Linked DNA regions of Homo sapiens: region 2 is linked to region 1. Evidence: promoter capture Hi-C in 16 types of primary human blood cells and fetal thymus (Javierre and others, 2016). All regions are on one chromosome and are shown on one strand. The core of a region is centred on a gene start or on the middle of the fragment in contact, and the rest is flanking DNA. Distances in the headings are between cores, read along the strand shown.

Region 1 (6,716 bases), core at 3,563-6,062:
CTGGAGTGCAGTGGCATGATCTCGGCTCACTGCAACCTCTGCCTCCTGGGTTCAAGCAATTCTCCTGTCTCAGCCTCTCCAGTAGCTGGGATTACAGGCGCCCGCCACCGTGCCCAACTAATTTTTTGTATTTGTAGAGATGGGGTTTCACCATGTTGGGCAGGCTGGTCTCAAAACTCCTGACCTCAGGTGATCCACCCACCTCAGCCTCCCGAAGTGCTGGGATTACAGGCGTGAGTCACCGCACCCAGCCGAGAAGCCATTTTAAAGGAACTTTGCCCAAGAGGGCCACCGAGAGGGAAAATGGACCAATGGCATGTGGTGGAGGATTCCAGAAGCCAGGGGCTGAGGGAGGAATTGAAGCAGCAAGACTGAGATGGCCACCTGATCATGGGAACTGGAGGTAAGAAAGACCCCCAGAAGCACTGCATGGGAGAGTCAGTTACAAATTCCCATCAAGCTGAGACAGTAACAAGGCCAGATGTCGAAGGGGCTTTTCTTGCCCCATCTCTACTCTCTTATAACCCCCTCCACCAACACAGGATGCCTCAGAAGCCATAGTTGGCCTGGGCTGGGGTGGGATGGAAGAGGAAACAAAATAAACAGAAGTCAACTACTGTCCTCCTCAAATGTGGGAGCCCAAAGAAAGCTTGAGAGGGGAAGAGAAGCAGCTTTACCTTTGAATTAAATTCCTAGTTTTGATTATTAACATGAACTGGACAGTAAGTCTGTCCTAGTAACCAGACACAATCCAAGGGCAAGCAAAGATTTAAAGACAGAAAGCTGCTGCATGATTGAATTCTACTTCTTGACTGTGGAAACCCTGCTTGTTTAATATAAGTTTCACTTGCAAAACACCAAGTAAAATCAATGCCTACCACACAGTGCTTCATACAGCAGCCAATAAGACTGTTGTTAATTACCTTGGTATTTCCTTAGAGAGAGGCAGATAGGAGCTGAGTGTGAGGCTTTTTATGTTTTTTTCCTTTGAGATAAGGTCTCATTCTGTCACCCAGACTGGGGTGCAGTGGTGCAAACACAGCTCACTGCAGCCTCAAACTCCCAGGCTCAATTCTCCTGCCTTAGCTTCCTGAGTAACTGGGACCACTGGCACATACCACCATGCTTGGCTAATTTTTATTATTTGTAGACAGGGTCTCCTGTGTTGCCCAGGCTGGTATTGAACTCCTGGGCTCAAGCGATCCTCCCACCTTGGCCTTCCAGAGGGGTGGAATTACAGGCATGAGCCACTGCACTGGGCCAAATGTGAGGCTTTTCTAGCAGTCAAGTTGTTTGGGATGGCCCAAGTAGAAGGCTTGGGAGGTAGCGAGTTCCTCTTCTGTGGAGATGAGGACTTGGGAGGGATGTGGAGGAAACTGAATTCCAGATGTGGGAGGGAGCCTGACAATCTGTGATTCCAGTTTATTGCTCATGGTCTCAACTCTCCCCCTCTACAGAGGTGACTTCCGCCCTGGCCTGAGTTTCAATCCCACAGTTCCTTTTTTCCCCCCTTAAATGAGACATATCTTGCTCTGTCACCCATGTCAGAATGCAGTGGCACAATCATGGCTCACTACAGCCTTGACCTCCCCCGATCGCCTGAGCTCAAGCGATTGTTTCATGTCAGCCTCTTGGGTAGCTGGGACTACAAGCACACACCATCACGCCCAGAGAATTTTCGTACTTTTTGTAGAGATGGGGTTTTGCCATGTTACCCAGGCTGGTCCTGAATTCCTGAGCTCAAGTGATCGTCCGCCTTGGCTGCTCAAAGTGTTGGGATTACAGGCATGAACACGGCCCATACCACTGAAAGGTCTATATGGACAACTCAGCATAACTCCCAATTAAGCCCATCTAAAACGGAACTCTTTATTTTTTCTCCTCTCCTTTGGTATAACCTCCTTTATTTTTCTCCTCTCCTTTGTATAACCCGACTTCCCTCTTTATGTATTTTCCACACCTCTTTCTTTCACTCCTCAAACCCAGATGAGCACAGACTGTTACCCATTCTTCCCATGAGACTTCTCCCACACTGGCCCTACCCACTCCATTTCTATGGCCACCACCGTAATTCAGACCTTTGTCATCCATAAAATAGATTCCTAAACAATCTCCCTGAATAGATTCCTAAACAATCTCCATTTTTTTTTTCCTGGGAATTCTTAGCATACAAGGTCAGTCTAATCTTCCTCAAACACAGTTCTGGCAGTGTCACAAAAGCCTGATTGGCCAGGTGCAGTGGCTCACGCCTATAATCCCAGCACTTTGAGAGGCTGACTCGGGCAGATCACTTGAGGTTAGGAGTTCTAGACCAGCCTGGCCAACATGACAAATCCCTGTCTCTGCTAAAAATACAAAAATTAGCCAGGTGTGGTGGTGCACACCTGTAATCCCAGCTACTTGGGAGGCTGAGGCAGGAGAACTGCGTGAACCCGGAGGTGGAGGTTGCAGTGAGCCGAGATCGCGCCACTGCACTGCAGCCTGGGCAACAGCGTGAGGCTCCATCTCAAATAAATAAACAACCTTTGATAAACACTTGCTTCCCAAGAAATGAAATACAAACTTCTCAGCTAACATTCATGGGACCGGCACAATCTAGTTTTTCCCAACCTGCTGTTTCCAGCTGTACCTAAAACCACTCAACTCTCCACAAATTCACTGAGGCCCTTTCAGCCCAGTCGCATGTTGGACAAAAAAAACAGAAGAAAGACTTAGTACCTGGCAAGACTTAATACCTGGCTCTGAGGTGCTCTCAGTTACAAGACAGAGGAGTAAATAATTACCAGAAGATGCAGTCAGTGATAAGATAAACAAAGGACACTGCTTGCCCTAATGTCCCCACTCCAAAATAAATGATCTATTCACTGTCCCCTGAATACTGGCCTATGCTTATTTTTTCCCGCTAGGATTTTATTTGGCCTTTTTTCTCCTCCTTTCCTGTCTAAACATTTCCCATTGTTAAATGCTCAGGCCCTAGTGCCCCTCCTTTGAGAATTCTGATTCCAAGGCAAGGGATCTTTCCCTCCTCTGGAGTTGAATGTTCCATTGAGAAACACCTACTCTTCCAGCATGTCTCAGCTTATCTGCTGTGTGTGTGTGTGTGTGTGTGTGTGTGTGTGTGTGTGTGTGTGTGTGTGTGTGTGTGTGTGTGTGCGCGCGCGCGCGCGCGCGCTTTTGAGCCGGAGTTTAGCTCTTATCACCCAGGATGGAGTACAATGGCACAATCTTGGCTCACAGCAACCTCCACCTCCTGGGTTCAAGGGATTCTCCTGCCTCAGCCTCCTGAGTAGCTGGGACTACAGGCACACGCCACCATGCCCAGCCAATTTTTGTATATTTAGTAGAGATGGGGTTTCGCCACATTAGCCAGTCTGGTCTCAAACTCCTGACCTCAGGTGATCTGCCCGCCTTGACCTCCCAAAGTGCTGGGATTACAGGCATAAGCCACCACACCCGGCTTTTTTTTTTTTTTTTTTTGAGACAGAGTCTTTCTCCGTCGCCCAAGCTGGAGTACAGTGGGGTTATCTCGGCTCACTGCAACCTCCCTCCACCTCCCGGGTTCAAGCGATTCTCCTGCCTCAGCCTCCGGAGTAGTTGGGGCTACAGGTGTACACCACCACGCTGGGCTAATTTTTGTATTTTTAGTAGAGATGGGGTTTCACCATGTTAGCCAGGCTGGTCATGAACTCCTGGCCTCAAGTGATCGGCCCGCCTCAGCCTCCCAGAGTGCTGGGATTACAGGCATGAGCCACCTTGCCTGGGGGTGTTGTTTAATTTTAAAAATATGTATCAGGCCGGGCGCGGTGGCTCACGCCTGTAATCTCAGCACTTTGGGAGGCCGAGGCGGGTGGATCACGAGGTCAGGAGTTCGAGACCAGCCTGACCAACGTGGTGAAACCCCGTCTCTACTAAAAAAAAAATACAAAAAATTAGCCAGGTGTAGTGGTGCGCTAATCCCAGCTACTCAGGAGAATGAGGCAGGAGAACCACTTGAACCTGACAGGCAGAGGTTGCAGTGAGCCAAGATCGCGCCACTGCACTCCAGCCTGGGCTAGAGAGACTCCGTCTCAAAAAAATAAATAAATTCATACATTTAAGTAATAAACTCATTGTGAGCAAGGAATTCTACTCGACTTTCTGTCTGCGTAAACTCTACAAATCCACTTGGCCTCAGCCACAGTGTCTTTATTCGTAAAGCAGAAACAGTGGGACCGTCAGAGCACTGCCGGGCAGGCGAGAGAAGACAGGAACTGTATGACCACGGAAGTTGTTGTCCCTACAACCTATTTGCTCATCTGGAACACAGAATAGTGGTCCTCTAAAGCTTGCAGGGCTGGAGGTCGCCATTATCAGCAGTGGTGTCACTAAACCTGAACCCAAGGGTCTCTGCAACTTGGGAAACGACGGCCCGGATCTGAGGAGATGGCCCCTTCCTCCCACCCCGCCTAAGGACTCTCAGCCTCCCTGACCCTACCTTTCCGGAGCTCAGAGTCCCCTCTGGCCTCCAAGGGCAGAAGGAATGGGTTTGGCTGAGGTCGGGGGCTCGGGTCTGGGACGCGCTCCACCTCCCCGGCTGCGCGACTATGGCCAGGCTCCCTGTCGGAGCCTCTGCCTGGGGCCCCACCTGGAAAAATGGCTCCTCTAAGGCGCTTCCAGCCTAAAGCCCGTCCTCTTCCACCTCTTGGGTGCAGACTGGCCCTCCCACTCCGACCGCAGGTCCCCCACCGGCCACACAGACGGCTACGCTAGAACCCAGCCAAACACCGGGGTTGCCAGGATGGTCCCACAGCTTTCCTTTCCGACTCCCGGAAGTGGCCGTGATCTCACGAGATCCCGGAGGCGAGCGCGACCGGAAGTCCGGTCACTCTCGCGAGGCCCCAGAGAGCAGGCGCTGGGCAGTGTGGAGGTCGTTGGAGTCACTTCCCCGTCACCAGCTCCTGTGCCTGCCAGTCGGTGCCCCTCCCGCTCCAGCCATGCTCTCCGCCCTCGCCCGGCCTGCCAGCGCTGCTCTCCGCCGCAGCTTCAGCACCTCGGCCCAGGTAGGCCAGACGAGGGGCGGCCTGCAGGCGGAGGCCCCCCGGCCCGGGCCACGTGCGTCCCCGGTTCGCGGGCAGCTCTGACCCTCTCCAGGCCAGCCTGGACCGCAGGGATGCCCGGCACTGGCTGGAGACTGTGGCGCCCGGGGCAGGCCCTGACACTGGCCTGGAGGTGCGGGGGAGAAAGCCGGGGAAAAGGGGGCGAGGTAGTCCCGCTCCAGGGCCGGTCCATTTGTCAGGGTTCCCCCAGGTCTCCCAGATTTCCCAGAGGACCTGCTCTTGGCTTGCACGCCTTCAAGGTTGGGAAACCAGGGCTCTGCATCTGAAAGTAAACTTACGTTTTTTTCTGCAGCGTTCCATTGCTTTGACGTAGCTAATCTCCTTGCAGCATCCGTGTGAGTTGTGCGTGAATAAAAGAAATCGTATACTTCCTAATTCCATAGTATGGACAAACCGAGGCTAGAGAACTGGGCCAGGGTTACAGTCATTTGGCCAGAGGATTAGAATTCAGCGCTTCTGACCTGAAGACGGCTTCCTCTTAACCTTTTTGGAGGATCTCTCCTGCTGTGGGCGGACTGAGCCTGCCGCCAGGTGTCTTAACAGTGCTTGACTTGGCCCGCGACCACTTAAGCCTAGGAGCCTAGGCTATTTTTAGCCATCTTCTAGAATGGTGGTTCTTAAACTCTGCAGTGTGTCAGAATCACCAGAAAGCTAATAAAAAACAGACGTCTGGGTTCATTGAAGAAGCTTAAGACTGCGGGGGGGGGGGGGGGGGTCCGCATTTTTACCAGGTGAATCTAATTAAACCTAATTTTGAGAACCCAGGAGGTGCTCGCATTGCCTTTTAATTACGACGCCCAAGAGGGAGGTAATTTTAAAGGGGAATCCAAATTTATCATCGAAGTTCTCGAGTTTCCTGTACATCCAGTTCATTTGAAAAATAAATACAAATGCTCCTGGATTGATGGCTACTTCCCATACCCATCGCAAGTTGGTAATATCCTAAGTCAAAAGGCGAGTTTAACTTTGTGTATTTTCAACTTGCAATGGGTTCCCACAGGCAACCCCATTGTAAGTTGAATGTACCAAATGCTTTTGCGCTGCGGTGAAGTGGGGGCCCAGCTGTATACAGATAAGTACATTAAGTACCTGTGCTTGCCAACAACTATGCTGGGTGCTGCAGGGGATACCAAGATAAGTGAGAAGTGACACTTGATATGGGACAGGAATGAGTAAACTTAGGACAGGTGGAAGCGATGAAGGTCTTAGGGAATGAGTAAACTTAGGACAGGTGGAGGCGATGAAGGTCTTAGGGAATGAGTAAACAGGACAGGAGGGATGAGGTGTGGGGGAGGGGCAGCCAACCAAAGAGAGGACAGGGGTGTCCAGGGAGAGGTTGAGTTTTGGTAGGACCTTCAGATATCCGACATATTTATTGAGCTAGGTACTGGAAATACAGCGGTGAACAAAACACAGAAGTCCCTGCTCTCACGGAAATTACTAGATATTTTACTTATTGCCCCACTCATTATAAAGTATCTTAAAATAGTGATGAACATGCAAGAAAAATGGGGATTGTAGGGTGCTTGTGTTAGGGAAGAGGGTACCAATTTTATTTACTTTTTTTGATGCAGTGCCTCGCCCTGTCGACAGGCTGGAGTGCAGTGGCGTGATCTCGGT
Region 2 (5,853 bases), core at 3,288-5,787, 2.0 Mb before region 1:
CCTCCCAAGTAACTAACTACAGGCATGAGCCACCATGCCTGGCTAATTAAAAAAAAAAAAAAAAGTCTGGGCGCGGTGGCTCACGCCTGTAATCCCAGCACTTTGGGAGGCCAAGGTGGGTGGATCACCTGAGGTCCAGAATTCGAGACCAGCCTGACCAACATGGAGAAACCCCGTCTCTATTAAAAATACAAAATTAGCCAGGTATGGTGGTGCATGCCTATAATCCCAGCTATTCCAGAGGCTGAGGCAGGAGAATGGCTTGAACCCGGGAGGTGGAGGTTGCTGTGAGCTGAGATCGCACCATTGCACTCCAGCCTGGGCAACAAGAGTGAAACTCCATTTCAAAAAAAAAAAAAGTTAGAAGAGACAGGGTTTCACTTCATTGCTTAAGCTGATCTCCAATTCCTGGCCCCACGTGATGCTCCCACCTTGGCCTCCCAAAGTGCTGGGATTATAGGTGTGAGCCACTGTGCCCAGCCTTCTTTCTCATGAGAAATTAAAAATTCTGGCCAGGCGTGGTGGCTCACACCTGTAATCCCAGCACTTTGGGAAGCCGAGGAGGGTGGATCACCTGAGGTCAGGAGTTCAGGACCAGCCTGGTCAACATGGTGAAACCTCATCTCTACTAAAAATACAAAAATTAGTCGGTCATGGTGGTGCACGCCTGTAATATCAGCTACTCGGGAGGCTAAGGTGGGAGAATTGCTTGAACCTGGGAGGTGGAGACTGCGGTGAGCCGAGATCCCGCCACTGCACTCCAGCCTAGGCAACAGAGCGAGACCGAATCTAAAAAAAGAAAAAAAAAATCTAGTATTTTCTTCCCACCCCACGTAATTGTTTTGCACCCAGGGGTGAGTGCCCCCCACTTTGCAGACGTGCCTAGACCTCTCCCCACAAACATGATGACTAGAGTTGGAGCTGGGCTAGCGCTGCCTCTTGTTCACTGGGTTCACGTGGGCACGTGGCTCCACTCCGGTCACTGCTTCCTGGGCAGAGGGATGACGTGGAAGGTAGACCTAGGGGGGACAGGGTTGCTTCCTGCCCATGTCCAGCATTCTAGAATTGTCCACATCTAGGCAGGGCGTTCCACCATCAGTGCTGGACTGGACCACCCAATTCCTTTGGACGCTTGACTCAGCCCAAACCCGTGCTCCCTCCAGGACCCTGGGCAGGGCAGCCCCAGCTCCAGGTAATCGGCACTGAGAAGAGTACACCTGTCACCGCCTGGCAGGGGCTCGCTCCTTTCTCTGGTGCTGCTCATTCGCGAGGCCTGAGACGCGGACCGTCACCTTCCCCGGGCCCAGCCTGGCCTCAATGCAGGCCTCAGAGAGAGGGACAAAACCCGGCCCGCCTCCCTCCCCTCCCCAAGGCGACCACCAGTGTCCTGGGGGTCCACAGGGCCTCTCCAGCTCTGATCCGAGTTCCCGGCTGCAGCTGGTTTGGGTCTGTGGGGGCCTCGCGCAGGGAAGCGGAGGCCCCTTCTCTAGGCTCCTACATCCTCCTGGCCTGCCCCAGCAGAGCTAGCGGCCCTCCGAGACAGCTGGGCCTCGCAGCTCCCAGCCGAGGCCTGTCGCTGGGAGAAAGAAGAATGAATGAAGGGCGGAAGGGGCGGGGAGGGGCGGGGCGCGCCGCGCCAGCTCGCGGCGCCCCCAGGCCGGGCCGCAGCGGGGCGTGGCCTCTAGAGGCGTGGCCTTGGGCGTGGGGGCGGGGTTTTCTGGTGGGGGCGGGGCCGCGCAGGGCCGTTCCCGCCGCCGGCCGCCCGCGCCCCGCCCCCGTGCCGCAGCTCACAGGCCCCGCCTCGGTCCGCCCCTCCGCTCGCTCCCCAAGCCGCCGCGGCGCCGAGCCGGTTTCCCCGCCGGTGTCCGAGAGGCGCCCCCGGCCCGGCCCGGCCCGGCCCGCGCCCTCCGCCCCCGCCTCCCCGGGCCGGCGGCGGTGGGCGAGCTCGCGGGCCCGGCCGCCCCCAGCCCCAGCCCCGCCGGGCCCCGCCCCCCGTCGAGTGCATGAGGTTGACGCTACTTTGTTGCACCTGGAGGGAAGAACGTATGGGAGAGGAAGGTGCGCGGGCCGCGGGGTGTGGGGCGAGGGCCTGGAGGGGGTGCCCGGGGCAGCGTGGGGCACGGGAGGGGGCCGGGTCTGCCAGGAGGCCGCGCCCCTGCCTCCTCCGGGATGAGCTCGTCCTTACGAAGCCCGCAGGCCCCTCCCTGTCCCCCTCCCGCCCGGGATCCCCCTCCCCGGCCCCCGGCGAGCTGCCCTCCTGCGGGTCTGGGGGCCCCTGGACCCTTTTTCCTCCTCCCACGTCCCCCCGCGAAGGACTCCCAGACACTGCCCACCCCGCGTCGGCCTCCATCCGCGTGCTCTGTCCACCACCCGGGCCTCGCCCTGGGGCCACCCTTTATCCAGTCTCGGAAGAAAGAGCGGCTGGGGAAGCCGCAGCCCCGGGTCCCAGTGGCCGCCGGGCGCCTGCCCGGCTCTGTGACCTTGAGCCAGGCGCTGACTTCCTGGTCCTCAGTTTCCCCTTCTGTACATTTGGAAACTGGGTAGTTGCCCCCCCGGTGTCGGTGATTGGGGGCCAGATGGGTAGAGCGGAGATAGGCGTCCAGGAAGCCGGAGGCCGTGTACTGCGGGAGCCTCATCCACTCTCCCTGTCCGTGCCCCAAACCCGGTGCCTGCCCTCAGTCTTGGCTGGGAGCATGACTCATCCTAACCTCCTCTTTAGCCCCTTCTCCCTCACTGGGGCCCAAGGCGCAGTACTGCACTGCAGTTAGGGTTCAAGGACTCCCCCAGCCTAGGACAGGGTCTGGGGGCCCCTCCTTGGATCTCCTTCGCTGACCTGTCACTTAGATCCACCTGGCCCCAAGGCAGGGCCTGACTCCACACCTCCCCCTGCCACCAACTCTTCCCAGGCCCATGAAAACCTGATTGGGGTAGGGGCCCACCTTCCTGTAGCCCCTGCCTACCTAAGGTACCTGCGTCTTCACAGAGGGTCAGGCTGTTGTGGCCTTGGGACCTAGCTATGTGACTGGGCAAGCCATGCCATCTCTGGGGCTCAGTCTCCCCTTCTGTACAGTGGAGAGGGGCAGGTCTGGGGCATTTTCCAGGGCCCACCAGCTCCAAGGGTGCCAGGCCCCAAGGATGACTAAGCATGCCTGTGGCTGGCTAGAGGAGGTGCCAGGCCTCCCTGGGACAGGTGTCTGGGAGTACCCAGGTCTGCAGCCCCCTCCCCTTGCCAAGCCAGGGCATTCATTGCCAAGGATCTGTTAGGGCCGGCACCTCCAGGCTTCCTGCCCTTGACCTCCCAGCTGGCTTCAGCCCAGGATGCACTAATCCAGCCCTGTCCAGTCCCTGCCTTTGAAGGGCCCTCTTAGTACTTCTTCCTGGGCAGGAGAGGGAAGAAAGGAGGCTGTGATAGGAATGTCACCCACTGCCTTATCCCTAAAGCCACTGCTTCCTTTCTCCTCATTTACCTTGCCAGATCCAATGCTATAGCGGGAGGATGGACCTGATCCTCCTCCTAAGCTGATACATAGGGAAACAGGGCCAGAGAAGCTTGGCAACCTAGTCAGTATCTCAGCAAGACTCAGGCCAGCGCCCTTTCTTCTCCTATTTGGCACAGCGACTGCCCTGCCTGGGCGCTGCACATGTGCAGTGTGCGAGGATTGGTGCAGGTGTAGGTATATGTGGGGTGGGCAGGGCAAGCTGGGCCTGCACCAGATCACACTTCCTGAGAATGCTTCCCAACTCCCTTCCCACCCTGCAGGAAGCGAGTTGCCCGTGTGTGCAAGCTGCGGCCAGAGGATCTATGATGGCCAGTACCTCCAGGCCCTGAACGCGGACTGGCACGCAGACTGCTTCAGGTAGGGTGGGGTGCCCAGGGCCTGTGTTGCCCTAAACAAGGCCTGCCAGAGAGGACAGGCTGGTCAAGGAATGGGGGAGGCCGGGATATGCCTCCTGGTGCCGTCCCCTATTGTGACTTCGTGGCCTTAATTTACCATTTATGACATGAGGTGTTTTGACTAGAAAATCCCTACAGGCCTTCCTGTTGTCATTTTATTTATCTATTTTTTTTTCTTTTTGAGACGGAGTCTCGCTCTGTCACCCAGGCTGGAGTACAGTGGTGCGATCTTGGCTCATTGCAACCTCTTCCTCCTGGGCTCACGCAGTTCTCCTGTGTCAGCCTCTGGAGTAGCTGGGATTACAGGCGTGCACCACCACGCCCAGCTAATTTTTGTATTTTTAGTAGAGACGGGTTTTGCCATGTTAGCCAGGCTGGTCTGAAACTTCTGACCTCAAGTGATCTTCCCACCTCAGCCTCCCAAAGTGCTGGGATGACAGACATAAACCACCGCTCCTGGCCTCATTTTATTTTCTTTTATGTATTTTTCTTTTTTCGAAATGGTCTTGCTCTGTTGCCCAGGCTGGAGTGCAGTGGTGCCATCTCGGCTCATTGCAACCTCCATCTCCCGGGCTAAAGTGATCCTCCTACTTCAGCCTCCCGAGTAGCTGGGATTATAGGTATACACCACAATGCTCAGCTAATTTTTTAAATTTTGTGTAAAGACAGGGTCTCACTATTGAGACCCAGGCTGGTCTTGAACTTGTGACCTCAAGCAATCCTCCTGCCTTGGCCTCCGAAAGTGCTAGGCTTACAGGCGTGAGCTAACGCCTTGGCCTCTGTTGTCATCCTAGATCTCTGAGATCTAAATCTTAGAGAGGATGGGAGAGACCTCCAATTGAGCCAGTGCCTGCAATTCAGCCCCCTGCTGGCACCCAGACAGGGGGAAGAGTTGGAAGGAATGTCCCTCCTGCCTTCTGGGTGTTCATGCTCTTGCAGGGAGGGAAGACAAACCAGGCCTTAAGGGAAACCAGGCCACCCTCAGTGTCTTCCAGGCTGCTTGCGAACATGCATAACCCAGTCACACCAGCCCCAGTGTCCAGACACACACCCACAGGTAGGAAGAAAGTAGGGTCAGGGTTGTGGCGGAGGATAAAGAGTACATGAGGACCTGAAGGTCACCCAGTAGGACCATCCTGAGAAGCCAGGAGCAGGGGTCTACCTGCCTTGAGCCAGAGCAGGGCCAGAGCAGGGGTCTCAAAGGATGTGAGATTTCCTGGGTAGAAAAGTAGAGTGGAGGTGGGGCGTGGTGGCTCACACCTATAATCCCATCACTTTTTGGGGCTGAGGTGGGCAGATCACTTGAGTTCAGGAGTTCGAGACAAGCCTGGGCAATATGGCAACACCCTGTCTCCACTGAAAATACAAAAAATTAGCCGGGCGTGGTGGCGCATGCCTGTAGTCCCAGCTACTCAAGAGGCTGAGGTGGCAGGGTTACTTGAGCCTGGGAGGTGGAGGCTGCAGTGAGCTATGATCGCACCACTGCACTCTAGCCTGGGCAATAGAGCGAGACCCAGTCTCAATTTTTAAAAAAGAAAGAAAGAAAAACAAATGGTGTGGGAGAGAATTACAGGCATAGTCACCAAACAGCAAGGTTCAGGGGAGAAAACTCCATAAAAGGGTAGAAGGTGAAGCTTCTGGGATGCCCAGCAGGGGTCAAGACATCCACCACTAGGACTTTATTTTAGGCTTCTGCCTTGGTTTATTTTTTGGTTTTTGGTTTTTTTGAGACAGTCTTGTTGTGTCGCCCAGGCTGGGGAGCAGTGGCGCGATCCCTCCTCACTGCAACCTCCGCCTCCCAGGTTCAAGCGATTCTCCTGCTTCAGCCTCCCAAGTAGCTGGGATTACAGGTGTGCACCACCACGCCCGGCTAAGTTTTGTATTTTCAGTAGAGATAGGGTTTTGCCATGTTGGCCAGGCTGGTCTCGAACTCCTGACCTCAAGTGATCTGCCCGCCT

What was found. The method cuts DNA at HindIII sites, captures the fragments that hold promoters and counts their contacts. A CHiCAGO score of 5 or more calls a contact.
Region 2: a fragment that was not itself captured here is called in contact with the fragment with the promoter of STYXL1 in region 1 in 1 of 17 cell types (fetal thymus); the score reaches 5.6 in fetal thymus.

Annotation. Positions count from the first base shown.
Region 1 is chr7:76,043,188-76,049,903 of GRCh38, forward strand. It overlaps STYXL1 (serine/threonine/tyrosine interacting like 1), which reads right to left and starts at 4,813. Exons shown (of 9, transcript NM_001317785.2): 1 at 4,475-4,813. MDH2 (malate dehydrogenase 2) reads left to right here and starts at 4,919. Exons shown (of 9, transcript NM_005918.4): 1 at 4,919-5,039. The coding sequence starts at 4,974. RefSeq lists enhancers at 4,286-5,068, 4,514-4,603, 4,714-4,793, 5,069-5,850 and a silencer at 5,044-5,203. The HindIII fragment of the contact is 1,459 bases long and covers 4,323-5,781 here.
Region 2 is chr7:74,081,988-74,087,840 of GRCh38, forward strand. It overlaps LIMK1 (LIM domain kinase 1), which reads left to right and starts at 1,817. Exons shown (of 16, transcript NM_002314.4): 1 at 1,817-2,058; 2 at 3,761-3,857. The coding sequence starts at 2,004. RefSeq lists enhancers at 517-1,195, 1,191-1,300, 1,196-1,874, 3,142-3,741, 3,742-4,339 and 1 more and silencers at 1,571-1,840, 1,961-2,010, 2,121-2,170. The HindIII fragment of the contact is 1,980 bases long and covers 3,548-5,527 here.